Linked DNA regions of Homo sapiens: region 1 is linked to region 2. Evidence: promoter capture Hi-C in human tissues and cell types (Jung and others, 2019). All regions are on one chromosome and are shown on one strand. The core of a region is centred on a gene start or on the middle of the fragment in contact, and the rest is flanking DNA. Distances in the headings are between cores, read along the strand shown.

Region 1 (6,721 bases), core at 3,926-6,425, 340 kb after region 2:
AGATGCCGCTACTGACATTGTCGTTAGATCCTCTAGCCCTAGCTGTTTAAGATTTCTTGGTGGCAGAAAGCACCAGTTGGAGCCTTGGCCAAGTAGATAGCTCCAGATCAGGGCAGGCAATTCAAGGCTGAGAGTACATATGGGCAGCTTCTCATTAAGGGAACCTAGATCTAATTAGATGCTGTCCCACTCCCACACACAGGAGAGAAATCATGCTCTGCAGAAGGATGTTTATTGAGAGGTGGTTGAGTTAGGAAAATATAATTGGTTTATTTCTCCAGGCAAAGGAACCATCAAAAGTCAGGCATTACACATTTCTATAGGCCGAGTTTGGTATCAGGGTGAGGATGTTGGTTTACTTGATCTTTAGGCTACTCTAAAAAAGCAAAGGTAGAATTGAGAAACTGACTTCCTGCACTGCCTTCAATGTGCCATGCATTCTGTTAAGCACTGTCACAAATGCACTCCCCATTAAAACCTCACTAGTAATTTAAGGTAAGGCAAAAGAAGCCTGTGATGGAGACTAAGAAGTAGGTATTATTTACCTCCACTTTAAAGATGATGAAATTATGGCTCAGTGAAGACCAGAAATGCTTCTTAGCTGACAAAAACTTCGAAATCCATGTTGAATGCCAAAAAGGGGTGGAGAGAAATAAATAGAAATAATTACTATTTCCCTGATTCCTGTAAGTTCCACGGTTCTACCACCCAACTACTGCTCAGCCCGTGGGCCACACAGCACTGTTGACAGTGAATTAGAGTATCAAAATCCAGGAGGGGAGGAACCAGAGAGGTCAGCCTACTGCAGTGATAAGATCACCCCTAAATCCACAGCAGTGGTAATGCTGACAAGACTAGGGGTCCTGTGGTCCTACTCCTCATTTCACAGATGAGAAAAGAACTCTATTGGTTGTGTTGCAAGAGTCACCTGCCCAGTTCACAGAACAAGTAATTAGCAGAGAGGGAAAACAGACCTCCAAAGCCAGGATGCTTTTCTCTCCATCACACAGCCTCCTGGGAGTGTTGTATTAGGATTTTTCATATAAAGTCTCTACTGTAAAGAATGGTTGACTGGAATCCCTCTGAGTAGACATTCAGATAATGTTTTATGTGAGAAATATTTATTCAGAGTTTTCTTTTTTAGCCAATCCTAGCAACACCAGCTAGATAGCCACTTAAGCCACCTATACATACTAATCTGTCTCTTGACTGTGAAAACATTAACATTCTGTATACTAATCAGGAGTCAAAATCATGATCAGCATTCATTAGTACTTTTTTCCAGTTCAATGCACTGAAGAAAGACATTGTACTGTTACATCAGTTTACCTGGTTGATTCTTAGGATCTGTCAAATGCTTGCAGATAAAGACTTAATCATATAAGAATTGTAATTTGGCTCTTCTCAGAATTACATTCCATTTTGATAGACATCATAGATATGTACTGGAAATAAATGTTCTGTTTTCATAGTGTTAGATTATTTTGCTTCTTTCTTTTTCTACTGCTTTTTACTGGGGAAATATATAGCAAAGACATTCAGTTATTTTCCCTTAAATAAACCTGATAAAGATCAGTTTGGACAGAGTTTTCTTGGACAGGTACTTTCTTCAACTGGAAAGAGAAGCTGGGCTTGAACACCATTTCTGATGTTGATTTGACCCTGAGAAAGCTATGTAATATTTCTTAGCCTTAGTTTCTTGACCTTTTAGTTGAGGATAATAAAACATGCTTTATTTAGGGAGGGATGGGCTGATAAGTTTAAATGAGATCACATTTACAAAAGGGCATTATAATATGTGAGATACATAGTAAGTGATCAATGGCTGCTTAATGTTACTAAATGTGCTAAGTGATCAATATGTGCCAGGCACTGTGATAGGTGTGGTGGGGTTATAAGAATTAATAATGACATTAAGTTAATACTTAATGGCCATTATTTATTCCACAAATCTCTGTGAGCACCAACAATGTATCAGATACCATGCTAGGTGATGGAAAGCTCCTGCCCTCAAGTTGTTCACAGTTTTATTTGTGGAAGCAGAAGTAAATATAGTGCAATTAGCACCACCTGAATCAGTGCAACACAAGCTGAAGAACAGAGTAGGAGCACTTAATCAAGGCTAGGGAGATCAGGAAAGGCTTTACTGGGGAGGTGATGACACATTCAATAGATGAAGAAGGATAACGCTTCAAGAAGGCAGAACAATTTCTGCAAATCCTGGAAGCAAAAGAGAACATGGAACATTCAGAAATTTTCATCGTTTAATGGTCACAGTAAAAGTTGGAGGCAACAAATGATGAGAGATGAGGTTGCAGCAATAAAAAAAAAAAGAGCTGATTAAAGATCTTAAAAAGCTTCAACTTTACTTTAAAGAGAATGAAGAGACATTACTCAGATGAGTGATGTCATCAGATTTGAACCAAGGAGGTCACTATGGCATCACTGGACAATGAGTTGAGTGGATGTGGGAGGACCAGGAGGCACTGTTGAGCTACAGCTAAAAAATGGGAGGGAATTAGCTAAGGTGGCTGGTAAGAAAAAGGAGAGAAATTGACAGACTCAAGAGAAGTTTGAAAACCGTTAGTCACACAGTGGAATTGGAAGAGTCAAGCTGAGTCTCAGGTTTCAGTGTGATATAGCAGGTGCATTTTTGTGCCACTCACCTAGAAGAGGACCCAGGAAGAGAAAAGTTGGATGAAATGGGAGGTAGGAAAGAGGGTACAAGATCCAGGGATGCTAGGCTCTGAATCTGGAAACAGCCGTCATAGCTGAAAGTCTGTTTCTATAGAGAATAGGTCTAAAAGAGGACCATGTGTGGATCCCATGCGCACTGCCTAAAGCAGGGATCACCTGCCTATGGGATAGGGTAAAACAAGATGACACTGAGTGTGGCCTCCAGAGGGTTCTGTGTATCTGCAGGAGTAGGAAGCCAGGAACACTCAGATACAGGTTTACATCCTGGAAATTAACCAACCTGACCTCAGGATAAGTGGCCAGGTCTGCAACATATGTTGTACCTGTTGGTAGAAGTAACATGGAACCACCAACATAAAACATGGATTGCTGGGTCTGATAGAGGAAACTACACAATCATAGAAAGAGAGAAATAATCCAGATTAAAGGTGTGATTTTTCCCTTAAGGACTTGTACGTAGTCAGGTTCTGTTGGTGACACATTCTTTCAGCTTTCATTGTTTCAGAAGGTTTCATTTCTGGGTGTAGAAATGGACATTGACTTCTCCATCCCACTCCACTGCCTTCTGGCTTATGTCATCTTCAACAAGAAATCTGCTGTAATTTTTATCCTTGCTCCTTTCTGTATAATGTCCCTGTATTCTCTGGTTGCTAATATTTTTAAATTTTTATGTGCTTTTCACCAATTTGATTATGATTTGCGTGTGTGCGTGTGTGTGTGCGTGTGTGTTTAATAGTCTGCCTGGGGTTCACTGAAACACGTAATCCGTAAACTTATAGTTTTAACCAAATTTGAGGGGAAAACCTTTAGCTGTTCTTTCTTCAGATCTTTTTATGTGTCATTCATCTTTCTCTTCTTTTTCTGTAACTCCAATTTACTTATCTTAGAAAACTTTATATTATCCTACACTCACAGAAGCTTTGTCCACTTGTTTCAGTCTTTATTTTTCTATATGTGCTTCATTTTGGATGGTTTCTATTGCTATGTTTTTAAGTTTACTGTTTTTTTCCTGTGGTGTCTAAATGGTTCTGAATCTCATCTAGCGTATTTTTCATTTTTGATATATTTTTCATCTTAAAAGTTTCATTTAGATATTTTAAAAATATCTTGTATTTTATCATGTTTATGTTTTATTATATATCTTTTTGAATATTTATAATAGCTATTTCAAGTTCCTTGTCTGCTATTACCTTTATTAATGTCATTTCTGAGTCTTTTTCTATTGATTTATTTCTCTCCTTATTATGGGTTATATTTTCATGTTTCTTTTTTGCATGCTGGGAAATTTTTTATTGGATGTCAGGTCTCATGTATTTGTTGGTTTTGTGATTTAGTTGTATTTCTTTAAAGAGTGTTGGTCTTTGTTATGGCACACAGTTAAATTACTTGCAGATTGGTTCGATTATTCTGAATCCTTCTTTTAAGCTTTGTTACAATGGGTACAGATCAGCATTTACTCTGGCATTAATTTAGCCTTACTACTACAGCATGTCCTTTCAAAGGCTCTACCAATACCTCATGTCCAGCCTTAGGAGTTTCACCCAACGTATGCGCAGGTTAATGTTCAGGATTTGAGGGGATCCTCCTGTAGCTCTCAAGTGCTTTCTGTTTCTCTCTGTGCCTTCCTTATCTCTGGTCCTCTGCTCCACCACACATTCCTAACGTGAGTGATACCTGGGGAGCGCTGAGGGTGGAGGGCATGAGAAAATAAGGAAAGGAAGCTGTGTTCCATGCCTGGGGCAATCCGAAGCTGAGCCAGGACATCTTGTGTACAATGACAAGACAAACTACAAACTATGCTAACTTATCTGAATTTATCTTGAGTAGATTCAGAGGCATAGGCAACTAAAGATAGCAGAAATCATCATCCTTCCTCCTCCCATAACCGGTGAATAAGGTGGAATGTATCAGTCTCACTGCATGTAGTGTGGGACAGGAGTCTCTTCATTTGAATATCAAAAACTAGAGACTCTAAGCTGACATTTGGGTCACAGGGAGGAACCAGGGGACAGGAAGAGATTGGTGAGATGGGAAAAGAAAAATAAGGACCTAGAAAAGGAAATAAAATTCATGTCTGGAAGGGAATTATTGAATTAGCCTCATGAAGAATATTATTTCAAAAATGAGCCTTAAGAAGATAGAAAATATAATTAAGGAAAGATTGATGGGAAAGTTTCCTGGGTTAAGGAAGCAGCTTGAGAAAATTCACAGAAGGACATCTAAGGTAGAGTCGGAGAACAGAGACAGGTGAGTTCACCTTATTTGTTAGGTATAATGAAAATATTGAAATATAAGTCCTGAAAAAGAGTTTTGGACAGTACTATGAATGCCTTGATTTGGCAACATGAGTAGGTTATACTTGATTCATAGGAAATGGAGAATCTTTAAAGGATTTCAAGTGAGCATTGTTGCTTCCAAAGAAATTAACTTCCCCTAATGGGGAATAAAAGAGGAGGAAAATAGTCTTTTAGTCAAATGGCCATTTATTCACCAAACCATAAGGACTCTTTGCTACCTAGAAACTGTATACTTGGTCTTAATAAAATGGATCTTAATAATAATAATACTTATTCTCCTATAGCAATTTACTTTGCAGATTGCCTTTGGAGCGAAATCTCATTTGATTTTTGCAAAAAAAAAAATTATTGGACTGAGATTCCCAATTTCCTATTGAAGATGAGAAAACTGAGGCTCAAAGAAAATTAAGAGATGTCTAACTCCAGACATCTGCTTAGATATTGTTAGCCCTAAAATCAGAACCAGCTTATGACTGCCCCATACAACTCATTTTATTTCTTTAGCTCAGAAGAATGGAAAGGAAAATAGTATGTTGAGTTTTTAAAGATGTTAGGACTTTTATTTCTAGCATAAGGCATAAAACAAAGGCTTATTTCAACTCCAGAAGATGGTACTAACACCTGGGAGGAGTTATTTATTGAGAAGACATTTCTTTATATTCATAGCCTAAGCCCCACTACTTACGTTCCCATGCAATGAGAGTTTGATGACAAGACATTGATTTAAGGAAGTGTGATGTGACTCCTCCACCCTGTGTCACTCCTTGTCCACCTGAAAAGTACCATAATAAATCGTATCAAAAGAAACCTTTTCTTTTGTGGTGCTTAAAGAAAAGGAGAGGAAACTGAATGTATCAGGCTTGGTGCTCAGTAAGACAGAAATAACTCTTGACTTAGTCAATTTTCTCTAAGGCGTATAGCAATCTATGGTTGCCCAGCTGAGGGCCAAGATTTTAAATAAAATTCTCACATTTGGACTGCCCACCAGTCTGAATATGTATCTATGTCTACACCCAGAAGACTTGTAAACTCAGGATTTTATAAAGGCAAAAGATAATTTGATCAAGATTGACCAAACTAAGTCAAAGAAATACAAAACTATTTCCTTTTTCTCTATGGTTGACCGAAATGTAAATCTGAATACAAAGAGGTTCTGGCATTCATTTCTGATTGCCTCATCACCAAGAAATGGGTAATAGTGTGGCTAAGAGAAGTTAGTTTGTCCCGATGCTGCTACCTCTAGAATAATTCATGCTGTAATAATCCTTTTGGTGTTCCCTGGACTGTCCTCTGCCACACATGGGGCAATAAAATGATCAAGTTCTGGCTGGGCGCGGTGGCTCACGCCTGTAATCCCAGCACTTTGGGAGGCCGAGGCGGGTGGATCACGAGGTCAGAAGATCGAGACCATCCTGGCGAACATGGTGAAACCCCGTCTCTACTAAAATATAAAAAAAATTAGCCGGGCGTGGTGGTGGGTGCCTGTAGTCCCAGCTATTCAGGAGGCTGAGGCAGGAGAATGGTGTGAACCCGGGAGGTGGAGGTTCAGTGAGCTGAGATTGCGCCACTGCACTCCAGCCTGGGCGACAGAGCGAGACTCCGTCTCAAAAGAAAAAAAAAAAAAAAGATCAAGTTCTTCATAACAGGGAGGTTCGTTTCAGTTAGCAGAAATAGTCCTAAGTTTTGCTTATAGATTTGTTCAAGTGTTTTGTTTAGGAAGCTTTGAT
Region 2 (7,378 bases), core at 1,600-4,099:
AGGCCAAGGGAAATTAGTGGCTTGCCCAAGGTCACAATGTCAGCCAGGAGCAGAGCTGGGCTATGTGTCTCCTGACTCCCAGTTCAGTGCTCTCTCCATTGAGCCAAGATGCCTGGCATCAAATGATTGAGGCTTTACAGGGTTGCTGTGCCTAGAGATGACTTTCTGTACCATATTTTCTTTGGTAAGATTTCAAGCTAAATATCTCTCTCAGCTCTAAAATATTTATACCGAGTATCAGGGGTCTGTGGACACCATTGCTTCATTAAGTTTGGCAGTAGAGGCAGCATCCCCAGCAGTAGCAGGGAGCCTGGTGGGTCAAGTACAACTCACCCCTCTTCTGGGGAGATGTGGCCTCAGTGTGGGGGGGCCCCAGTGAACCATTTGCTGAAATGATATAAACTTCATTTGCAATTCTTGGGGTCTGTAACGGCCACGTGAGTGATGAAGAAACACACATTTAATTAGCAGATGTTATGTTCTAGATTCCACGCTGAGCATCACAATGGCTAAAGCTGGGGCTTTGTAGACAGTCATATAGGTTTAAGTCCCAGTTCAACTAGTTATTAGCTGTTAAATCTTGTGCAAGTTATCTAACCTCTAGACTTTAGCTCACATATCTGTAAAATGGAGCTGCTGCTGCTGTTACCTACCTGTCAAGTTTGTTATTGAATGAAATAAATTAATATTTATAAAGCACCAGAACAATGCTTTCTAAGCACTTACCAGGTAAGTGCTGTATAGTGATTGCTATATAGTAAGTGCTATATGGTGATTGCTGTTACTATGCAAATTAAAATTATATTCACATAAAACATTAACACGTATTTTTTACTAGGATGAAAAGATACAGATTATATACATTAGAATTGCTACCTATGAGTCTATATGGAAATTTTTTTTTTTTTGTAAAAGCAGCCAGGCACGGTGACTCATGCCTGTAATCCCAGCACTTGGGGATGCTAAGGTAGGCAGATCACCTGAGGTCAGGAGTTTGAGACCAGCCTGGCCAACATGGTGAAATCCCATCTCTACGGAAAATACAAAATCAGCCAGGTGTGGTGACGCATGCCTGTAATCCCTGTTACTTGGGAGGCTGAGGCAAGAGAATCACTTGAACTTGGGAGGTGGAGGTTGCAGTGAGTCGAGATTGTGCCATTGCACTCCAGCCTGGGCAACAGAGCGAGACTCTGTAACAACAACAACAACAACAACAACACCACAACCAGGCAAGCCATTCTAAAGCCCCTGCTTTTAATCACAGCAGATACTGTTTTGTTATTATCCCACTGAGAAGATGAATAAACTGAGGTTAAAATAGTGTAAATCAAGGCATCAAACATCCATGAAGCGGCAGGAGAAGCACTTGGAAGATGGTTTCTGGTATCAGATGGGTGATTTTAAGTCCCTCTTTTTCATCACTAAACTTCAAGATCTGCTGGCTGTCCAAAATTCATACTGTTTGAAGAGCCTGCTCAGATTCTGCTAGCCACACCAAGCTTTTGGAGAGAGTGGAGTCAAGAGACGTGTTTTCCAATTGTAGGAAGTGTTGTTTCTAATGCATGCGATGAGCTTCGTCAACAAGTTTATACAAATAGATGGGAAGAGTGTAATGTGAGAAACTGAAATAAAACCAAAATGCCCTAAAAGACAGGATTGGCTAAATAAATTATGCCTATCCATATAACAGAATATAGGTAGCCCATAATGTACTACTACGGAATATGACCTAGAAAAATATTCATGACGTATTATTTTTTGAAAATGTCACAATGTGGTATATAGAATGTATGTGGTGTACAGAATGTGTGTGTATATACACACACATACACTTGTACATGTACAGAAAAATGGTAAGCGGGATGTACATATCGTAATGTTAACAGTAGTCATCTCGGGTGGGGTTTTATGGAAGAGTCTTACTTCTCTTTTCTTTCATCTATATTTTGTATTTTTTCTAGAATAAACCCATATGATTTTTTAAAAGGAAAAATAATTTATTAAAAATAGCAGCAGAGGCATGTATAGTAAAGGCTGTTTTGCCTGTGGGTGGTGCTCCTCTTCTGCGCTTCTATAATCAGCTTGGAAATAATCTTGTCTGCTCCTGCCTGGCTGATGCAATGCTCCTACCTTTGTGCACAGGTGGCTGTTCTTGCACAAGGCCATTGCAGCATGGATCCTATTGCACAGTTATTCAGTACACAGTCAGCTACAAGCACTGACATAGAGCTTGGCACATGTCTGCAAACCCTACCCACATGCTCGGATATGTTTGAAATGAATGAATTAATGAACCGGTCTGGGGTCAACAGCTTGAATTTGTATACAGGCTCCGCCATTTATAGGCTAGGTGAGTCCTAGGCTCCTGATCTGTACTGCAGCAATAGTAATCATAACTTAAGAGACCTCCAATTGTGTTTTGAAAATGGCAAAGTGCTGGTCACAAGATGGCTGGGGAAGCCGAGAGAGAGTTTATTATTATTGCTCCATCTACTAACAAATTTACATCTCCCCATCCCTCATTTCTCCTTGGCTGCCTAAGGCATCATGGTTACCGTAGCAGCCAGATGCTGATGATGCCTCCAGGGGACGGCAAGGTGAAACTGAGCCAGTTCCCAGTCCTCACCTCCCCATACTCTTTCCAGGCCAGGGTGAGATGGTCTGAAGCTCAATCTCTGGTCAGGTCCCCCACTCTGTCTTGGATCATTTAGACCCACAAACTCTGCCTCTGCAATCTCAGTTCAGGGCCTTGAAACACCTCTTCAGAGACTCCCTCCTCCCCAAGCTCTGTCTTCTGGCAACCTGCCTGGTTGCCGTGGAAACAGGTTCCACTGCGGACAAAGGAGGGAGCTGGGTCCTGCTTCCTCCTGGTCTTGTCGATGAGGATTTTTAGACCGTGGAGACTGCGCTGCCCTGCCCTGCACCTACCCTCACTCTCCGTGTTCTCACTAAGGTGGAAATTGCCTTCCCTCACTACTGACGAGACCATGTGTAAAAGCGTGACCACAGATGAGTGGAAGAAAGTCTTCTATGAGAAGATGGAGGAGGCAAAGCCGGCTGACAGCTGGGACCTCATCATAGACCCCAACCTCAAGCACAATGTGCTGAGCCCTGGTTGGAAGCAGTACCTGGAATTGCATGCTTCAGGCAGGTGAGTAGCCCAGGAAGGTGGATCCCTGCAGGCCGCCTCTAGGTCCCTAGCTCTGGGGCACCTTCCAAGGAGAGGAAGATTACGTAGAACCCAAGTGTTTAGCTTCAATCTCACTATTAGGCTGGCGTAGACTGGAAGTCAGAGAAAGAGTCCCTAACTGGGAACTACGACACTTGAGTTGGATTTCAGCTCTTCTACTGATCACCTGTGTTACTCTTCCTCTCTGAGTCACAATTTTTCCGTCTGGAAAATAAAGACATAGAATATACGTATGAGTCCTACACACTGACATTTTACATATTTTCTATTTTAACAGTCTCTTAAAAAGTAGTTTAAAACCAGAGAAGAAGGGTTTGAGGCCCACTGGGGGTCGAGACGTCCGTGCTCTGGTCCTGGGACCGGTTTAAATCTATTTAACTCAACTTAATTTCACTTAAAATATTGAATACATGAGATGTGCCAGAAACTGGCTCTATCATTGGCTCCATGGCTGTTGAGGAACTCGATTTTCTTCTTGGACCTGGCTTTCTCCTTTTGCACAGTGAGAGGTTAGCCTGTGGTCCACAGAGCAGCAGGATCGGCATCACCTGGAATTTGTTAAGAAAGCAGAATCTTGGGCCCCTTTTAGATCTGAATCAGAATCTGATTTCAAGAAGAGTTCTAGGTGATTAGTATGTAAAAACTATCTGAGATGAATTTCTAGCACTCTTGTTCATGGGTCCAGAGTGTAGGGGCTTACCTTTGAGACATAAGATGGGGAGGCTGAGTGGTGCAGCCTGGAAGTCAGAAGCAAGGCCTTCCTGCTTGCCCTGGTTCAGCCAATTCACTTCAATTCAGGAAACATTACTGGGCACCTGTTACGTGCTGGGCGCCGGTTCTGCCTCTAGCTGTGTGTACATGGATGCCTCTCTCACTCTGTCTCAGCATAAAAGAAAACATTAATTAGGTGATTTCCAGGTCCCTCTAGTTACGACATTTTTCAATCCAGGTTTTGTAGTCTGGTCTGAGAGAGGAAACAGTCCCCAAAAGATGTGTGAACAAGAAGAGAATGAAAATGTGAAGCTCCTAAACTGGCTGACAGGAGGGGTGTCAAGGGCTGGACACTTACAGGCAGGATCAGGAGCTTCTTGAAGACCTGGAAGGCTGTGGGGGCTGAGTGGGGAGGGCTTGTGGCTGCCCCAGACCTGGCTGGGGACCTGTAATCCCCAGCTGGCCCCAGTCAGGCCTGGGAGACTACAGGCCTTGGGGATCTGGGCACAGACTGCCTCCACCTCCAGGCCTTGTGATGCATTAACTCTGACACTGGCCTGGACGTTGATAGCTAGTAATGGTGTCATTTTCTCCTAATTTGGATCTAGCCTGTTCACAGTCAGTGTTAACAGATAGAAATGTGCAGATGGATTATGTGTTTCTTATCTGGTGTGAGAAGGAAGGACTCACCTAGTGCACCAAGCGCATTTTGCCCATGAGGAATAAGAATGACGCCCAATGCTGGGGTGGTGGGAGTTAGGCCTCTGGAAAGCACTGAGGAGGTAGAGCACTGCTGGATGCCCGGTGACATCCTGAGGAACCTGCTGTAGTCCTAGGGGCACTTGCAAGGCTGAGTGGCTTCCTGGGGAAAGCTAATGAACCCAGGGCGCCGGCAACACACTTCCTCCACCTCCAGGCTCTGCTTAGCCTCCACGTCCCCTCACGCCATTCCTAGGGCTGTTTCCACCACCTCCGCCCGTCTTCTATTCCTCCCTCTCCTCCCGTCTCCGCAGGTTCCACTGCTCCTGGTGCTGGCACACCTGGCAGTCGCCCTACGTGGTCATCCTCTTCCACATGTTCCTGGACCGCGCCCAGCGGGCGGGCTCGGTGCGCATGCGCGTCTTCAAGCAGCTGTGCTATGAGTGCGGCACGGCGCGGCTGGACGAGTCCAGCATGCTGGAGGAGAACATCGAGGGCCTGGTGGACAACCTCATCACCAGCCTGCGCGAGCAGTGCTACGGCGAGCGTGGCGGCCAGTACCGCATCCACGTGGCCAGCCGCCAGGACAACCGGCGGCACCGCGGAGAGTTCTGCGAGGCCTGCCAGGAGGGCATCGTGCACTGGAAGCCCAGCGAGAAGCTGCTGGAGGAGGAGGCGACCACCTACACCTTCTCCCGGGCGCCCAGCCCCACCAAGTCGCAGGACCAGACGGGCTCAGGCTGGAACTTCTGCTCTATCCCCTGGTGCTTGTTTTGGGCCACGGTCCTGCTGCTGATCATCTACCTGCAGTTCTCTTTCCGTAGCTCCGTATAAGATTCCGTGGTTGGGCCCAGAGCCTGTCGAGGGTGCCAGTTAGCTGATGCGAGGGTAGAGGAGAGACGTGGGTTGAGAATAGTGTAAACTTCTAGCGCTGGTGATGTCACTGACTCAGTGGGGATCTTGGACAAATTATACAGTTTTTCCATCTATAAAACTCAGGGTTTGGGCAAGATCATTGGTTTATCATAGTGAAACCCAGGACCCCAAAGTTCTGCGTAGGTGCCTCAGGGACTTTTGGATTTGGAAAGTAGGCTAAGCTAGTGGGTGTCTCCAACTCCTGATCTAAACACCCATCCTCCAACTCCTACCTCCTCCTCTTGCTTCGATCAGAACAGCTTTACTTTAGATAGGGTTCCATTTAAGATTTTTGTACCAAAAAAAAAAAAAAAAAAAGTTTAACTACTTTTAAAAAGTTTGAAAATTAGAGGACTGGGTGATCTCAAAAGGGCTTTCCACAGTAATGAGCTCGACCTTGCTCTTATTAGTCCCTCACCCCTGCCCCTCATGATCTCCCACTTTCTCTAGCTGCAGCCTTAAATTAGCTTCTTTGCCCACCCTGTGAGCCTCATCCGTGATTCTGCCTTCACACACGCAGCAGAGGTTTCCCTTGAAGTGCAAGAGGTGGGAGATCAGGCTGTTCCTTTGCTGCCAGGTACACAGGGTCTCTTTTTTTTGTTTCTCAGATTCCAGCTTCTTTCCACTCAGGGCAGATTCTGGGGTCTGCCTGCCTGAAAGATGGTGGTTGGGGTGGGGTCTCATAGAGTTAGGCTTCTCACCCACTGCGTATTAACTGGCAGAGAATTTAGGGGAGGTTCAGAAGACAGAGTTTTAGAAGCAAAGCACAAAATCTCTGGGAGGCATTATAATGGAGGGTCTTCAGAGTTCGGGGACCAAGTCTAGCAGATTCTCAGCAGTGCTGATGGCCAGAATTCAGGAGCAGGGGCCTGGCCTCCTGGGTTCTTTGCTGAAATTATAGTTGAATGGCTTTCTCACATTGGCCAAGCATGAGGCCTCTTGCCAAAGATCAGCTGTCCCCCTAAAGCCACAGGGATGGGGTATCTTCAGCAAGAGAGAGGGCGTTAAAGATGTAAAATGCTTTGTCCATGGGGAAGTGCACAGATATGTGGGAGAACCTTACAAGGCTCTAAAATGAGATGTGATATGGCTTGAAATGGGAGGAGACACTTTCTGACAGTGGGGGGTCTGGAATGGAATTGGTGGGGACAGGCAGCAAGCTGCACTTTTGAGGGGCCTCATTTACCCCACCTCTGTTAAAAACTTGACTACTCTCCTCTTTAATAGAAAGTCACCATCATCTGTAGTGATGGAGGAAGGGGGTCACTTATATAAAGATGGGACACTTTAATAAAGACAGGATATCTTCCATAAGGCTTAGTAGTCATTAATGTGTGTTTGAGATTCCCCCACTGTCCCAGATCTGTAATGAGCTATTGGTCCCCTCCATCCCGCCACCCTGTCTCCCCTTTTCTCCCTTCTGCCCCCTGACCCCACTGCCACATAAGGCTCTATCTAGCTCCAGTTTTTGGCCAGTCTCGTCCACAGTCAGGAGGGATGGAAGTCAGTCATTCAGGGGATCAGCATAAGGTCAGTTTTACTCCTATCCTGGCTCGAATTCAAGTAAGCAGCGATGGCTTCCTTTACTTCATTCACAGAGTATTTATTTCTTCATCTAGTCCGCATATCCTGAACACCTGCTATCTAGCAAGTCCTGATTTACTTGCTAGACAGTAGGTGTTCAGAATATGCAGACTAGAGGAAGAAATGAATACTGTGGGTGCAGCGGAATATAGGGGGTGCTCTCTGGTTTCTCAGACATCTCTGCTTGCTACAGAAGTTTTCAGCCCTGGCTGTACTTCAGAAATTCTGGGGAGATTTTAAAGAAATATAAGTACTTAGCCTCTACCCCAGACCAATGGG

The links. Contacts are between HindIII fragments. The study calls those that stand out against the background at their distance.
Region 1: a fragment that was not itself captured here is called in contact with the fragment with the promoter of RTP1 in region 2 in 2 of the 25 tissues and cell types used here (spleen and stomach).

What each region holds. Positions count from the first base shown.
Region 1 is chr3:187,529,607-187,536,327 of GRCh38, forward strand. LOC105374262 (a long non-coding RNA gene) reads right to left here and starts at 6,338. Exons shown (of 6, transcript XR_007096211.1): 1 at 6,232-6,338; 2 at 5,680-5,766; 3 at 546-611. The HindIII fragment of the contact is 4,379 bases long and covers 2,987-6,721 here.
Region 2 is chr3:187,194,637-187,202,014 of GRCh38, forward strand. It overlaps RTP1 (receptor transporter protein 1), which reads left to right and starts at 2,850. Exons shown (of 2, transcript NM_153708.3): 1 at 2,850-3,151; 2 at 4,915-6,826. The coding sequence starts at 2,880. The coding sequence ends at 5,434. It overlaps LOC101929106 (a long non-coding RNA gene), which reads right to left. Exons shown (of 5, transcript NR_110052.1): 3 at 4,592-5,477; 4 at 3,891-4,066; 5 at 2,454-3,394. The HindIII fragment of the contact is 12,407 bases long and covers 671-7,378 here.